2 separate regions of the Homo sapiens genome follow, and region 2 is linked to region 1. The links are contacts of gene promoters, found by promoter capture Hi-C in human tissues and cell types (Jung and others, 2019). All regions are on one chromosome and are shown on one strand. Each heading gives the region's core, a stretch centred on a gene start or on the middle of the fragment in contact. The rest is flanking DNA. Distances are from core to core; before and after follow the strand shown. Region 1 holds the start of ANKRD53 (ankyrin repeat domain 53). Region 2 overlaps CD207 (CD207 molecule).

What was found. Contacts are between HindIII fragments. The study calls those that stand out against the background at their distance.
Region 2: a fragment that was not itself captured here is called in contact with the fragment with the promoter of ANKRD53 in region 1 in 3 of the 25 tissues and cell types used here (IMR-90 fibroblasts, mesendoderm cells and thymus).

The regions. Positions count from the first base shown.
Region 1 is chr2:70,977,094-70,983,785 of GRCh38, reverse strand. ANKRD53 (ankyrin repeat domain 53) reads right to left here and starts at 5,156. Exons shown (of 6, transcript NM_001115116.2): 1 at 4,971-5,156; 2 at 4,443-4,689; 3 at 3,926-4,125; 4 at 1,686-1,850; 5 at 1,089-1,209. The coding sequence starts at 5,140. It overlaps LOC105374795 (a long non-coding RNA gene), which reads left to right. Exons shown (of 2, transcript XR_001739534.2): 1 at 1-93. RefSeq lists silencers at 4,720-4,779, 5,140-5,229 and an enhancer at 6,257-6,526. The HindIII fragment of the contact is 11,444 bases long and covers 2,474-6,692 here.
Region 2 is chr2:70,827,569-70,833,674 of GRCh38, reverse strand. CD207 (CD207 molecule) reads left to right here. Exons shown (of 6, transcript NM_015717.5): 3 at 1-29; 4 at 624-775; 5 at 1,856-1,974; 6 at 2,475-3,464. The coding sequence ends at 2,625. Among named protein-coding and RNA genes, the nearest start is that of CD207, 5.2 kb to the left of the region's middle. RefSeq lists an enhancer at 1,963-3,162. The HindIII fragment of the contact is 6,837 bases long and covers 300-6,106 here.

The DNA of each region.
Region 1 (6,692 bases), core at 3,907-6,406:
TTCCTTTAGTTCTAGCTAAAGGAACGAGAATGGACACTTGATCGAATTGAGGCCATAAGAGATGAGGGAAGATGCAAGGAGCTTCTGGAAAAGGTTAGAGCTACAGGAAACAGATGGGCCTTGCCTCCTCTGGACAGTGTGTGACTCTGAGGACTGGTGACCCTGACATCAGAGGAGGATAGGGCTGAGAACTGGAGAGAAATGGAACTGAAACAGACCCGGTGTGCCGGAGTCAGCAGCCCCAAAGCCCTCCCCATTTCAGGATTCACTTAAGATTCCCAGTATCTTCTGAGTTTTCTGGGTTTTGCACCCTATGTAATTACACCTGCTTAAAATCCCCTTTCTTCCCCAGCCAAGGTCCTTCACTGATGTGGGCTCCTGCCAAATCTTGTCAGCCTCCAACTTACATCTGATCCCCAGCTGCTCTGAGTTTTCATTCTCTGCATACATCATGTTCCCAGGTGCCTCTATGCCTTTCCATGCGGCTGCTCTTTATGCCTGGTTAGCCCTTCCCTCCTTCATATAGCCAACTGCTGCGCATCTTTCAAGACTCCTCTTAAGCATCATGCCTCCTGACACCCTCCTGGACCCTCTCCTCCTTGATGGGCCTGTAACCTGCCTCCTCTGCTAGACTCTAAGCTCCTTGAGCGTGGGGACCACATATTGTTCATCTTTAGACCTCAGGGTCTAGCAGGTTCCTAGCACAGAGTGAATGCCCAGTGCCTGCTGGAAGGAAGGGTGGATCTTTTTAACCAGAGTGTGAGCCCCAGTTACAGGCAGTGCCTTGGTCTCATTGAAGGTTCTCATCCTGAAAGAGGCAGTACACTAGGAGGGGCCCAGAAATACTTGCGAATTTAAGCTTGCTTAAATTGGCTTTCTAACACAGGATAAGACTTTTGACCAAAAGACTGGCTTATTTAAAAGAGCGGAATTTCAGTCAGAGTACCCGGTGGGAGTACAGGCGAAAGGGTGGCTCTTTCAGGGTGGGAGTGCTTCTAGCCACTCCTCCACAATATGTGGGTCACTGCCCCCTCTGCTCACATGCCTGGATAGCAGCTGTCCCCTGGCCCCCCTGCTGTCCCCCTTACTTGATACTCAATCAGGTAGTTGTGCTCCATGAGGGTCAGCTGGCTCTTGAACATCTTCATTTTCGTCATCTCACGGGCAAAGTCCTTCTTGTCCTTTTTCCACATGGCATCCTTCAAGAACCTGGTGCCAAGGTCAGGGCGGGGGTGTCATCCCACAGTGACAGAGCTTCCACCTGGGCTGGGAAGACTGGCTGCTGCTGAGGGCTTGGATGGGGATGAGGGGAGTGGCCAGAGGGAGAGGAGCAAGATGAGCCATCCCCATTGCCCGGGGCCCTCTGGCTCCCTACTTCCTTTAGGTGAAAGACGAAAGTCCTTGATGACCTGGTCACCACCCTCCTGCTGAGGAGCCAGGGGCCCCAGGGCAGGAAAGGAGGGCAGTGATCAACCCAGAGAGCAGGGGACCTGGGCAGACTTACCCCCAAGCCCAGGTGATGAGGTGATTGCCTCATCCAAAATATCCTGGGCAGTAGGCGCATCCTCCAGCTGTCTGGCTTCCCAACCCTCCCCTTAAAGGCTCAGCTGTGGTGAGGGCCCTAGGGAAAAGGCTGGGGGAGGGGAAGGGGGTGGGCAGGCTCCAGGTGGTTCTCACACTCTCACCGGGCACAGGCACGGTGGTTCCATATTTTGCAGAAGTCAATGGGTTTGTAGCCCATGGCATCTTGGGCATGGACGTTGGCGCCACTCTGCACCAGGACCTTCACACAGTCCAGCAAGCCGTCACGGGCTGCCAGGTGCAGGGGCGTGGAGCCGTTGCATGTCTGACTGTGGAAGGCCCCACCAGTGGGGATAAGGGCAGAAAGGAAAGACAAAGAGCATCTGTCCATCAGATAGATGGACACACCAGTTTCCAAGCCCTGCTCTACCATCAGTCCACTGGGTGATCCTAGCTATGTCTGTCCCTTTTGGCACCTCAATTTCCTTTACTGTAAAGGGAGGAATTGGACTAAGTGAACAGTAAAAATCTGACTTTAGAAGGTATGTGATAGTTAAGAACTGCTGGAAGGAGAGCTGGCTTGGTTCAGAGACCACTAACCTCATCCACTCTTAAACCAACCAGCCCCCTGCCCTTTCCCTATGCCTCACCAGATTCCGTATGCCCACAAGATCTGCATGACCTGGGCCTAACCTCCTCGATCTTATCCTTTGACCTTGCCCACTCTTTCCCAACACATGGTCTTTGCATATGATGTTACCTCTACCTGGAACACTTTTCCCTGGCTCTTTGCATGGCTGGCTCACTCTGTCTTCAGGTTCCAATTTAAATGTCACCTCCTTAGAGGTGATTGCTTCATCCAAAATAGATCCTCCCCCTACCTGCTTTACCCCCTACACCATCACCCCGTTTATTTTTTCATAACCACTTCCCATGCTCTGTCAGGATTTTGTTCATTTATTTGTTTGCTAATTCACTGTCTGCTCCTTTACTAGAATGTCAGCTTCGTGAGGAGAGGGACCATTTCTGTGACTCTAGCATAGTGCTTAGCACATAGTGCATACTTGATACTTTGAATGAATGCAGTCTCCTATATGCCATGCACTTTTCAGTGATCACAGTAGTCCCATGTGATAGGTACTGCTATTCTCCCAAGTTTCAGTTGAAGACACTGAGACAGAGGTTCCCAAACTTAGCTTCAAGTTAGAAGCACCTGGGGATCTTTTCTGACTTCCCAAGCCCAGGTCACACCACAGACCCATTAAATCACAGCCTTTGGATTGGAACACAGGTGTTTATATTTTTTAATTTTTTTTTTTTAGACGGAGTCTCGCTCTGTCGCCCAGGCTGGAGTGCAGTGGCACGATCTTGGCTCACTGCAAGCTCTGCCTCCCAGGTTCACGCCATTCTCCTGCCTCAGCCTCCCAAGTAGCTGGGACAACAGGCACCCGCCACTACGCCCGGTTAACTTTTTTGTATTTTTAGTAGAGACGGGGTTTTACCATGTTAGCCAGGATGTTCTTGATCTCCTGACCTCGTGATCCGCTCGCCCCAGCCTCCCAAAGTGCTGGGATTACAGGCGTGAGCCACTGCGGCCAGCCTAATTTTTTTTATTTTTTATTTTTTGAGACAGTCTCGCTCTATTGCCAGGCTGGAGTGCATTGGAGCAATCTCGGCCCACCGCAACCTCCACCTCCCGGGTTCAAGCGATTCTCCTGCCTCAGCCTCCCAAGTAGCTGGGACTATGCCACCATGCCACCCGGCCAGGTGTTCATATTTTTTAAGCTCCCTAGGTAATTCCAATGTACACCTAAGTTTGGGAGCCAGAGTACTGGGGCATAGAGGTTGAGTGACTTGCCTAAGGTCCTGCTGTCTGCTAGCAAGTTGCAGAGCTGGGATGTAGACTAGGTCTGTTAAAGGCCAATCTTTTTTTTTTTTTTTTTTTTGTTGAGACGGAGTCTCGCTCTTGTTGCCCGGGCTGAAGTGCAATGGCACCATCTCAGCTCACCGCAACCTCCATCTCCTGGGTTCAAGCAATTCTCCTGCCTCAGCCTCCCGAATAGCTGGGATTACAGGCATGCGCCACCATGCCCTGCTAATTTTGTATTTTTAGTAGAGATGGGGTTTCTCCATGTTGGTCATGCTGGTGTTGAACTCCTGACCTCAGGTGATCCGCCTGCCTCGGCCTTCCAAAGTGTTGGGATTATAGGCATGAGCCACCATGCCCGGCTAAAGCCCAGTCTCTTTATTACACCATGTGGATTCCTGACTGCTTTATGTGGGACCCAATCCTTGTCACCTCCAGCAACCCCTCTGCTTGTCCTGCATGGATTTGCCTGCCTGGAAGTAGGGCTGTGCCCGTGCCTGTGCCCGAAGCCTCCCTCCTGAAGCAGGCTGGACTCACGCATTGAGGTCTGCGCCTTTCTCCAGCAGGTAGTAGATGCAGGGGAGGGCCACGGTGGTGTTGTCCCTGTGGATGACGAGGTGCAGGGGTGTCTGGCTATTGTTGGTCAGCAGGTCCACGGGAAACTTGTACTCCTCTACCAGGACCTGCAGGCATGCAAGCTTGCCCCATTGGGCGGCGAAGTGGATGGCAGTGAAGCCCTGTGAGGTTCAGAGCAGGCAGGAGGAGGCTGAGTGGGACTGAGGTCCCAGGGTCCACAATTTATATAAATTTATTGGGGTTACCTTCACTTTCTTCCCTGTGTCCCCAGGAATGCTCACACCCTTTTGCTAATTAACCAGTGTGTGTTCATCAGCCCACCCAACCTCCCTGCCCCCAAAATGGTCCTTCCACAGCCAGAAGATGAGTTAAATTAGGAAGATCTACCCAGAAAAGGATATCTCTTCTCCAGGTGACCACTCCGAGCAGCGTAGCGGGAGAGGGACCTCGGTCTTTGCCCCAACACTCAAGACCTTACCTTGTCGTCGGTGGGGATTTCCCTGAGGCTCTGGTTCAGACAGAATCGCAGCCATTCCACGTTGCCCACAGCCGCTGCGAACAGCTGGTAGTAGCTCCCGATCGCCGTCTGGTCGATTGCCGTCTGGTCGGACTCCTTGCTGGGGCTGGGGTCAGCGCGGGGCGGGGTGAGCGAGGCAGGGCGGCGCGGCCTGGCGAGGGCAGTCGCCTGCGCACTGAGGTGGTCTGCGAGGTCGGGCAGGGGCTGGCTGGAGGGCGGGGCAGTGGGGAAGCGACTCTGGGCCACGGCCCGGGCACCTCTCGGGAGGCGATCCCTGGCCCCCGCCTGGCTGGTGGGCGGGGCAGTGGGGAAGCGACTCTGGGCCACGGCCTAGGCACCTCTCGGGAGGCGATCCCTGGCCCCAGCCTGTCTCTGCTGGCTTCTCGGGCCGCAGCCTCCGCCCCCGCCCGCTCCAGGCCCTGCCCACCAGGGAGGCGCTGGGCCGGGTTCTCGCTCCCTGCAGCCGGGACACCTTCTCCCGCTACCCACCTGGGCTGCTTGGACTCCGCGTCAGTCCAGGTGGCCTTCAAGGAGACTTTGTTCGCCTGCTGCATGGAGCCACTTGGAGTTGGCTGCGGCCGAGCACCTCTCCCTTCTCCCCTTTCTGAGTGCCAGCTTCCGGAGCCCGCCCGCCGAGCGGTGCTGCCCGCGGAGGCCATCGCGGGGCTGGAACTCGGACCCGGGCCGGGCGGGCTACTCACACACCCGCCGGCGCCCCGCCCCCGGGGGCCACTCCTTGCCAGCTGGCCGCGGTTTCCCGGCCCCTTCCAGGCCGCTAGGGTTCGGCTGCCTCTCTAGCTGGAGGGGCAGAGCCCGGGGGCCTCCGGGGACCCTGCCCGCCTGCCGCTCCCCACCCGCCGCTCTGCTCCCGGTCTGAGCCAAAACCCCCACTCAACCTCCCAGTCCTGCTGCCCGGGAAACTCAGCATCAAACACACAAACAACAAAGACACTTGGCTTTTGTTTCCGATTATCAAACTAATAAGTAGAAAACAGAAATATTCAATGTGGAAATTAAAAATTACCATCCCACCACGCACAGAAATCATGGTTTATTGCAATATATATGCATATCATGACTATTTTTTGTATCTCTTTTCGTTTATTAATAGCATTATATTACGAGCTAGCGCCCATTGTCACTCCACATACTAAACGTACATTATGACGCAACCAGAGCCCAGCGTCATAATGGATGTGCCATTGTTTCACATGTGCTGCCAAGAACGAAATGGCTCAACTCTGGTTGTTTTCTTAGAATGGATTCCTGGGAGTCGAATCACTAGGTGAAAGGGAATGAATATTTTTCAGCTGTCAATATGGGCTTGCAGACTGCCTTCCAGGAAGGTTATTATTCACTTCCACTTCCACCTGCAGTGAAGCGGGTGCGCTGCACATCAGCAGTGTGGCTTTTGGCAAGTTATCTGACTTAGTTTCTGTGGGCGGCAAGCCACCCAGGTGCCAAGGCAAGAGACCGAGGGCACAAGCTGTTCCAGTATAATAAAATATACAAAACAACAAGAGTTATACTAGATCTAGATCTAGATCATAGACGTGATTATATATGAATATCGTTAATCATTAGTTTGTAGCAATTACTCTTTATTCCAATATTGTAATAATCCTCGCTCTATAATCATAACCTAGGAAAAACCAGGCCATAGAGAGATAGGAACCAAAGGGACATAGTGAGAAGTGACCAGAAGACAAGAGTGCGAGCCTTCTGTTATGTCCGGACAGGGCCACCAGAGGGCTCCTTGATCTAGCGGTAATGCCAGCGTCTGGGAAGACGCCGGTTACCAAGTGGACCGTGGTCTGGCGGACCCTGGTCTGGCGGACCGTGGTCTAGCGGTAGCATCAATGCAAAGGAAAAGCACCCGCTACTTAGCAGACCGGGAAAGGGAGTCTCCCTTTCCCAGGGGGAGTTTAGAGAAGACTTTACTCCACCACCTTTTGTGGAGGGCTTGACATCAGTCAGGCCCGCCCACAGTTATCTGGAGGCCTAAACATCTCCCTGTGACGCTGTACTTCAGCGGTCACACTCCTGTTTCACTTTCATGTTCCATCCTGTACATCTGGCTCTGCCTTCTAGATAGCAGTAGCAAAATTAGTGAAAGTACTAAAAGTCTCTGATACACAGAAATAATGGCGTAAGCTGTCCTCTCTCTCTCTCTCTCTCTCCCTCCCCCTGTCCCCGCCCCCACCCCCACCC
Region 2 (6,106 bases), core at 2,469-4,968, 150 kb after region 1:
GAATATGAGCAAGTTGCTCAAACGACAAAGTAAGTGACTCAGAAAATTACATTGAAGCTGACCAGTGGCCCATGGGATCTTACCTGTCCCAGACCTGAGGCCATTGGGCTGGTGGGTTGGGGAGGAGAGTGGGGGCAAAAGAGGGGCAGCCATGGGCTAGGAAGTTAAGGAGAGAGGGCTTGAGGTTGGGGAGGACTTAGGGGCTGTTAGGAGAAAAGAGACCAGGGTCCAGCTAGAGCTCCCACACAAAAGTGCAGAATGTAAAAGCATTAGGGGATGTCCACCCTGGCCCACACCTAGTCATTTCCCATCAAGTTCCTTTCTAGAGTCCAGGGGCTCAGCCACTTGTCATGGCCGATGGAGGGTTGCTTCCTCATCATGGGGAAGACACTCTTTGTCCAACCTCTTGCATTATAACCTCTCCAGTCCCAGAGACTCTATTAGTCTCTGTCTGACTTTCAGGATTTGAAAGAGTGTCCCTAATCTCCTATACAAGGACCCAAGGACACCAGCGCACAGCTCCATTTGCTGCTGTCTCTGAGACCTCATTCAAGTGCCCCCACCAAGCCAGCATCCCAAGAAATCAAGAATACCAGCGTTCACTTTTACCTCTTGTTCTCTAGATGATATTCTACAGGTGGTTTCTCAAGGCTGGAAGTACTTCAAGGGGAACTTCTATTACTTTTCTCTCATTCCAAAGACCTGGTATAGTGCCGAGCAGTTCTGTGTGTCCAGGAATTCACACCTGACCTCGGTGACCTCAGAGAGTGAGCAGGTGAGTGCTGTGCCTATGGGCTCTGTGAAGGGGGCGTATGAGCACTGGGCCAGGGAGGATGGGCAAGATTATACTGCGTGAACAAAAATCCCCAAATATTGATGACCTAATGAAGAAGGATTGGTTCTCAGTAGCATGTCGAATAAGGGCCGGCAAGGGGGCTGTGCTCACTGTGGCTACTCAAGGACCCAGGCCCAAGGAGTCTTCATCTTAATATGTCTCCACAATTGCTGGGGCAGGAAAGGGGAACTTGACATATTGTGCAAAGCTTCTGCCCAGATTTAACATACCTCATTTTTGCTTACATTTCACTAGCTTAAGTTATGTTAATTAAGTTAAGTAAGTTATGCAGTACTCCTGGATTGGGAGGATCCTGGATTCCAGTACTCCTGGAACAGGGCAGAGAGGATCTACTTTCCATGTGCCCAGAAAAAAAGAAATATTTGTGAACAGCCTTAATGATTCCACATGACTCAAGAAGTCTCCTGCCTGGTGAGGCAGAAATTGGGCAGGCCCTTTTCATCTGGGAGGTGGGATAGCAGAGCAGGTCAGAGCCTGGGCTCTGGCGTAGTTCTAGAGCCTGAACCTTGCCATCTAACTAGTCCTAGCAGCTTGGGTGGAATACCCAACTTCACTGGGCAAACTTCACTGGCCCTCACTTGATGAAACATGCATGGTGATGGCACCTGCCTCAGAGGAAAGGAGAGAATGCATATGGACGACTCAGCACAGTGCCGTATGTGGATTCAGGGCTCATTTAATTCAGGTATTATCATATGAACCATTCTCTTGCGGTCCGTGCTCTGGAGTTCAGCTGAGGCCTTCCTGTGCTTCAGCACCTGCTTCCTGAGTGGCAGAAAGGCTTGAGTCCTGAGCTTGTTAGCTGCAGAGCAGGGACACATCATAATCTGGAAGATGAAATCTGGGCTCTGGGCAAGGGCAGGAAGAAGCTTGAGAGGCCAGTTTGTGCAGCGCATCTGTGGGTCAGGGCTGTCACTGAGCGCAGGTGAAGAACACCCAGAGACAGATGATCAAGCTCCAAGTGTGGCCGCACCTCTGCTTATCCTGTCTTTCCTACAGGAGTTTCTGTATAAAACAGCGGGGGGACTCATCTACTGGATTGGCCTGACTAAAGCAGGGATGGAAGGGGACTGGTCCTGGGTGGATGACACGCCATTCAACAAGGTCCAAAGTGTGAGGTAAGCCCCTGGAGCCCTCCGTGCCAGCCTGACTTTCCCCGGCCATGGCCAGGGCATGAAGGGAGTGGGGGCGATGTTCCCCATGAGACAGGGTTTCTGATTCTTCCCTGTCTTAGAGTGACAGGAACATTGCAACCAAGATCGAGCACAACCCTGTCACCAACTGGCTGTGGACCTGAGCCCTCCACGCCCTCTGGGGTTTGGCAACAAGGCCTTCTACCTGGCCAGCTTCAGGGATCTTGTCATGAGTCTAGGTCTTCACAGTGTGGGTTTGTGTAGGGACTTGAAAGTGGTGGGTTGGTTTGGCCTGGACTTGGGGCATGTGAAAGCTTAGAGGTCGAAGTCTCACCAGTCCCCTTCCTCTGAGGCTTGGGTGCAGACATTTGCTATGCCATTCCCTAGGACAAAAGCTTGGGTTGAGTTAACTCATTTCTTCACTGGAAATAAGTTCTTTTTGATTTTCCACTTTGTAAATCCATCTTTTTCCCCGCTCTTGGTAGGTTCTGGATTCCAGGTGAGCCCAACAATGCTGGGAACAATGAACACTGTGGCAATATAAAGGCTCCCTCACTTCAGGCCTGGAATGATGCCCCATGTGACAAAACGTTTCTTTTCATTTGTAAGCGACCCTATGTCCCATCAGAACCGTGACAGGACAGGCTCCCAAGCTCACTCTTTGAGCTCCAACGCTTGTTAAACATGAGGAAATGCCTCTTTCTTCCCCAGACTCCAGGATGACTTTGCACGTTAATTTTTCTTGCTTCAAAATTGTCCCACAGTGGCATTCTGGAGTCCGTCTGTCTTGGCTGGAAATTCTCTGACGTCTTGGAGGCAGCTGGAATGGAAAGGAGAATTCAGGTTAAAGTGGGAGGGGTGGGTAGAGAGGATTTAGAAGTTCCAATTGCCCTGCTAAGGAGGATCAAGACCCGTAATCCGGCATAACACCCTGGGGTTTTCCACTCTTTCAGAGAAACCTCAGCTTCATCACATCAAAGTTACTCCAGAGCAACCAAGCAATTCTCCTGATATTGTCATCCAGGGCTTTTCTTGGCCAAACCCCCTAGAATTTCCATGTCTCTGCTTAGCTGTGCTGGCAGCTAGCAGCTGGCTGTGTTTGCAGTGCAAATAGCTCTGTTCTTGGAAATCCTGCTCATGGTATGTCCCCAGTGGTTTCTTCATCCACATCATCTAAAGCCTGAACCCGTTCTTCTCTGGTTCAAGTCAGTGGCTGACACGGACTTGTATCTCCTTCAGAGCTCGGCTGGCACCCAGCCTCCCTTCTCCTTCCACTCCCTTAGTACACTGGAGTGCCGAGCCCTGCCTTCCACCCAGCGTCCATCCAGCCCCTGTCCTCACCTCTCCGGCACCTCCTCCTCCTTCTGCATTTCCTATCTTCCTGTGTCTTGTGCATGGGAAGCAGCCTTCAGTGCCTTCATGAATTCACCTTCCAGCTTCCTCAGAATAAAATGCTGCCTGGGTCAAGGACTCACTCCAAGTGCACTTTTTCATTTCTGGTTGTCCAGGTGAATATGTGGGAAAGGCAGTCTCCTCTGGTGGACATGAAGTTCTAGGGTATCCTCAGGAAACATCTGGGGAGTCAAAAATAACAAGGACTGGGGAAGTTCCAGTCCTGGAAATGCCACAAAATGTGACCAGTACTTATCTCTAGTTTTTATTAAAGTAGAGCAAGGTCTCCAATGTCACGATCTTGGTGATCTTTCTTCTTGTTTACTGCACAATCTTCTAGTCTATAGCTCAATTCCCAAGAACAAGTCTCAGCAGGTTCCCCACTCTTCACAGAGACCCAGTTCCACAGGCATCAGTTCCAAATCCCAAGTCCAGTGGCTGAAGCTGGAATCCAGGCAGCAGCCACCACAGAGAGGAGAGGAGGGTGGAGTGAGCACAGGTCTTCATTAAGGTCCTCAGGAAAAGATGCTTCCTTAAATAACTGTAACCAGCAGTGTGTTGTTCTGGGTGCAAATGGGTCACAGCTGAGGGCACAGGCTTGTATTGTAAGACCTGAAATACCACGTGCTGCTGTGACATTTTATGCCTCACAGGGCCCCAAAGACCTAACCCTGAGTTCCCTGCCTCTCACCAGATATATCCTTGCCCTCGGTCCCCACCTGGCTAATTTCCTATCATCTGGACCAGCTGCATGCCACCCAGTTTTCTACTTAATGGGTTTCACTTCTCTGCCAGCCTGAGAAACTATTCAAACAAGCCAATCACATCCTCCTACAGGAATCCGGGGCATCTCATCCTTTTATTACTACAAGGCCTGCCTCCCACAGCCCTGGCTGGTTCACTCTGCTCCTGAGGGTGACCCCATGTGGCCCTGTGTGGCTTATGATATCTTTCCCCAGTAGACTGTATTTGTGACTAGTAAACTGCTGCCAGTCTCACCTGCACAGTGTCAAATGTCTTGTTTTGGCCATCTTGTCCTATTTAGAGCAGGGGATCCCTCCCTCACCAATGGAGGAAATGGGAGGTGACAAGAACAAGGCTGGTCGGGGATCTCTGGTTGGTTTTGGCAAAGAGATGAGCTGGGAAAATCAGACCATTTCTCTGGGAAAGAATTTGAACCAGGAAATAGCAAGAGGATGAGGCTGTTAACAAAAGGAAGTTGAGCTGGAAGGCACTGAGTTAAGAGAAAGGCTGGAGGGGCCGTCACGTGGCATTGGAAGAAACTAGCAATGAGCAGAAGCTATGAGGCAGGGGAAAGACATGAATACAGGCCTGGCATGGTGGCTCATGCCTATAATCCCAGCACTTTGGGAGGCTGAAGTGGGTGGGTCACCTGAGGTCAGGAGTTCGAGACAGCCTGGCCAACATGGTGAAACCCCATCTCTACTAAAAATACAAAAATTAGCCGGGCATGGTGGTGGGCACCTGTAATTCCAACTACTTGGGAGACTGAGGCAGGAGAATTGCTTGAATCTGGGAGGCAGAGGTTGCAGTGAGCTGAGATCCCACCACTGCACTCCAGCCTGGGCAACAGGGCAAGACTTTGTTTCAAAAAAAAAGAAGTGACTGCAGAGGATTATAGTTGGCAGAGAAAAGAGAACGGCTCAGAGGAGTCGCAATGGAGGTCCCGGAGGGCAGCCTGAAGGGCTCCGGCTGCTCCCGTTCCCAGGGCTGCCTCAGATCCTCCCAGCCCTTCTGATCCTCCTGGTTTCTGTGCATGGGGACCTTACGAGGCTGTGCTCCTGACCCCAACCATTGCTTTTTCTTGAAACTGAAAGAGCCTGAGTCAGTGAGGATGTGTTTTTATCTGGAGTCTGTGCCCCAGCCTGAACCCAACAAGTGCAGCATTGCCTTGGCTTCCTCCCTTGAGGAAGCTGGGACACCTGTCGCTTTGCTTTGTCTTGTGACTTTGGCTCCCTCCCCCACTGTATGCATGCCTTGCTTCTCCAGGGAGGTCGCTACATGGGCACCTGCCCTTCTGCTGGCAGTGTGGCCTCGCCCAGGAAGTCCCACCATTGATAGTGCTCTAGTCCTGTCTCTAGCAGGTCTTGGGGTGTTATCAATACCTGGGCAGCTCCTCGTATCATGGACCCCACAGTATTTCTTGTGAAATTCTGGGGATTTTTCCATTGTCAGGTGAAAAGTTGGGAGCCAGGGACAGGTGAGAACTTTTTCTCAGTCAACTTGGGTATTTATTGTATTACATTAGTTGTTTTCTTTCTTTTTTTTTCTGATTTGGCAGGCTAACAATGCTTGACATGCCCTCTTTCAATGTTGCAATAAAATACTCTTGAAAAATTTATCCTTTTGTGTTTGAATATAAAAGAAGAGAAAAAAATACTTGAATCACCCCCACTGACCAACTAGTCCTAATGCTCGTGAACATGTACTATATTTTATTTTTCTGTTTTTATGCTTTATTGATCTATCTATCTATTGAATCACTTCATTTTCTCTTTGTCATTCTCTCTCGCTTTCTCTTTCTCTCTCTCCTCTTTTTCTCATATTGTATGAGCTATGCTTTCTTTGCTTTAATTTTCCCAGTGCTTTGGAAGATAAGCCATTATTTGGGTGGGGTGTGTGTGTGTGTGCGCGCACACACGTGTGTAGTTGCCTAGCACTTCCCCTTTTTCTTACAAAGCACCCTGGCTTCTGGGATTATTGG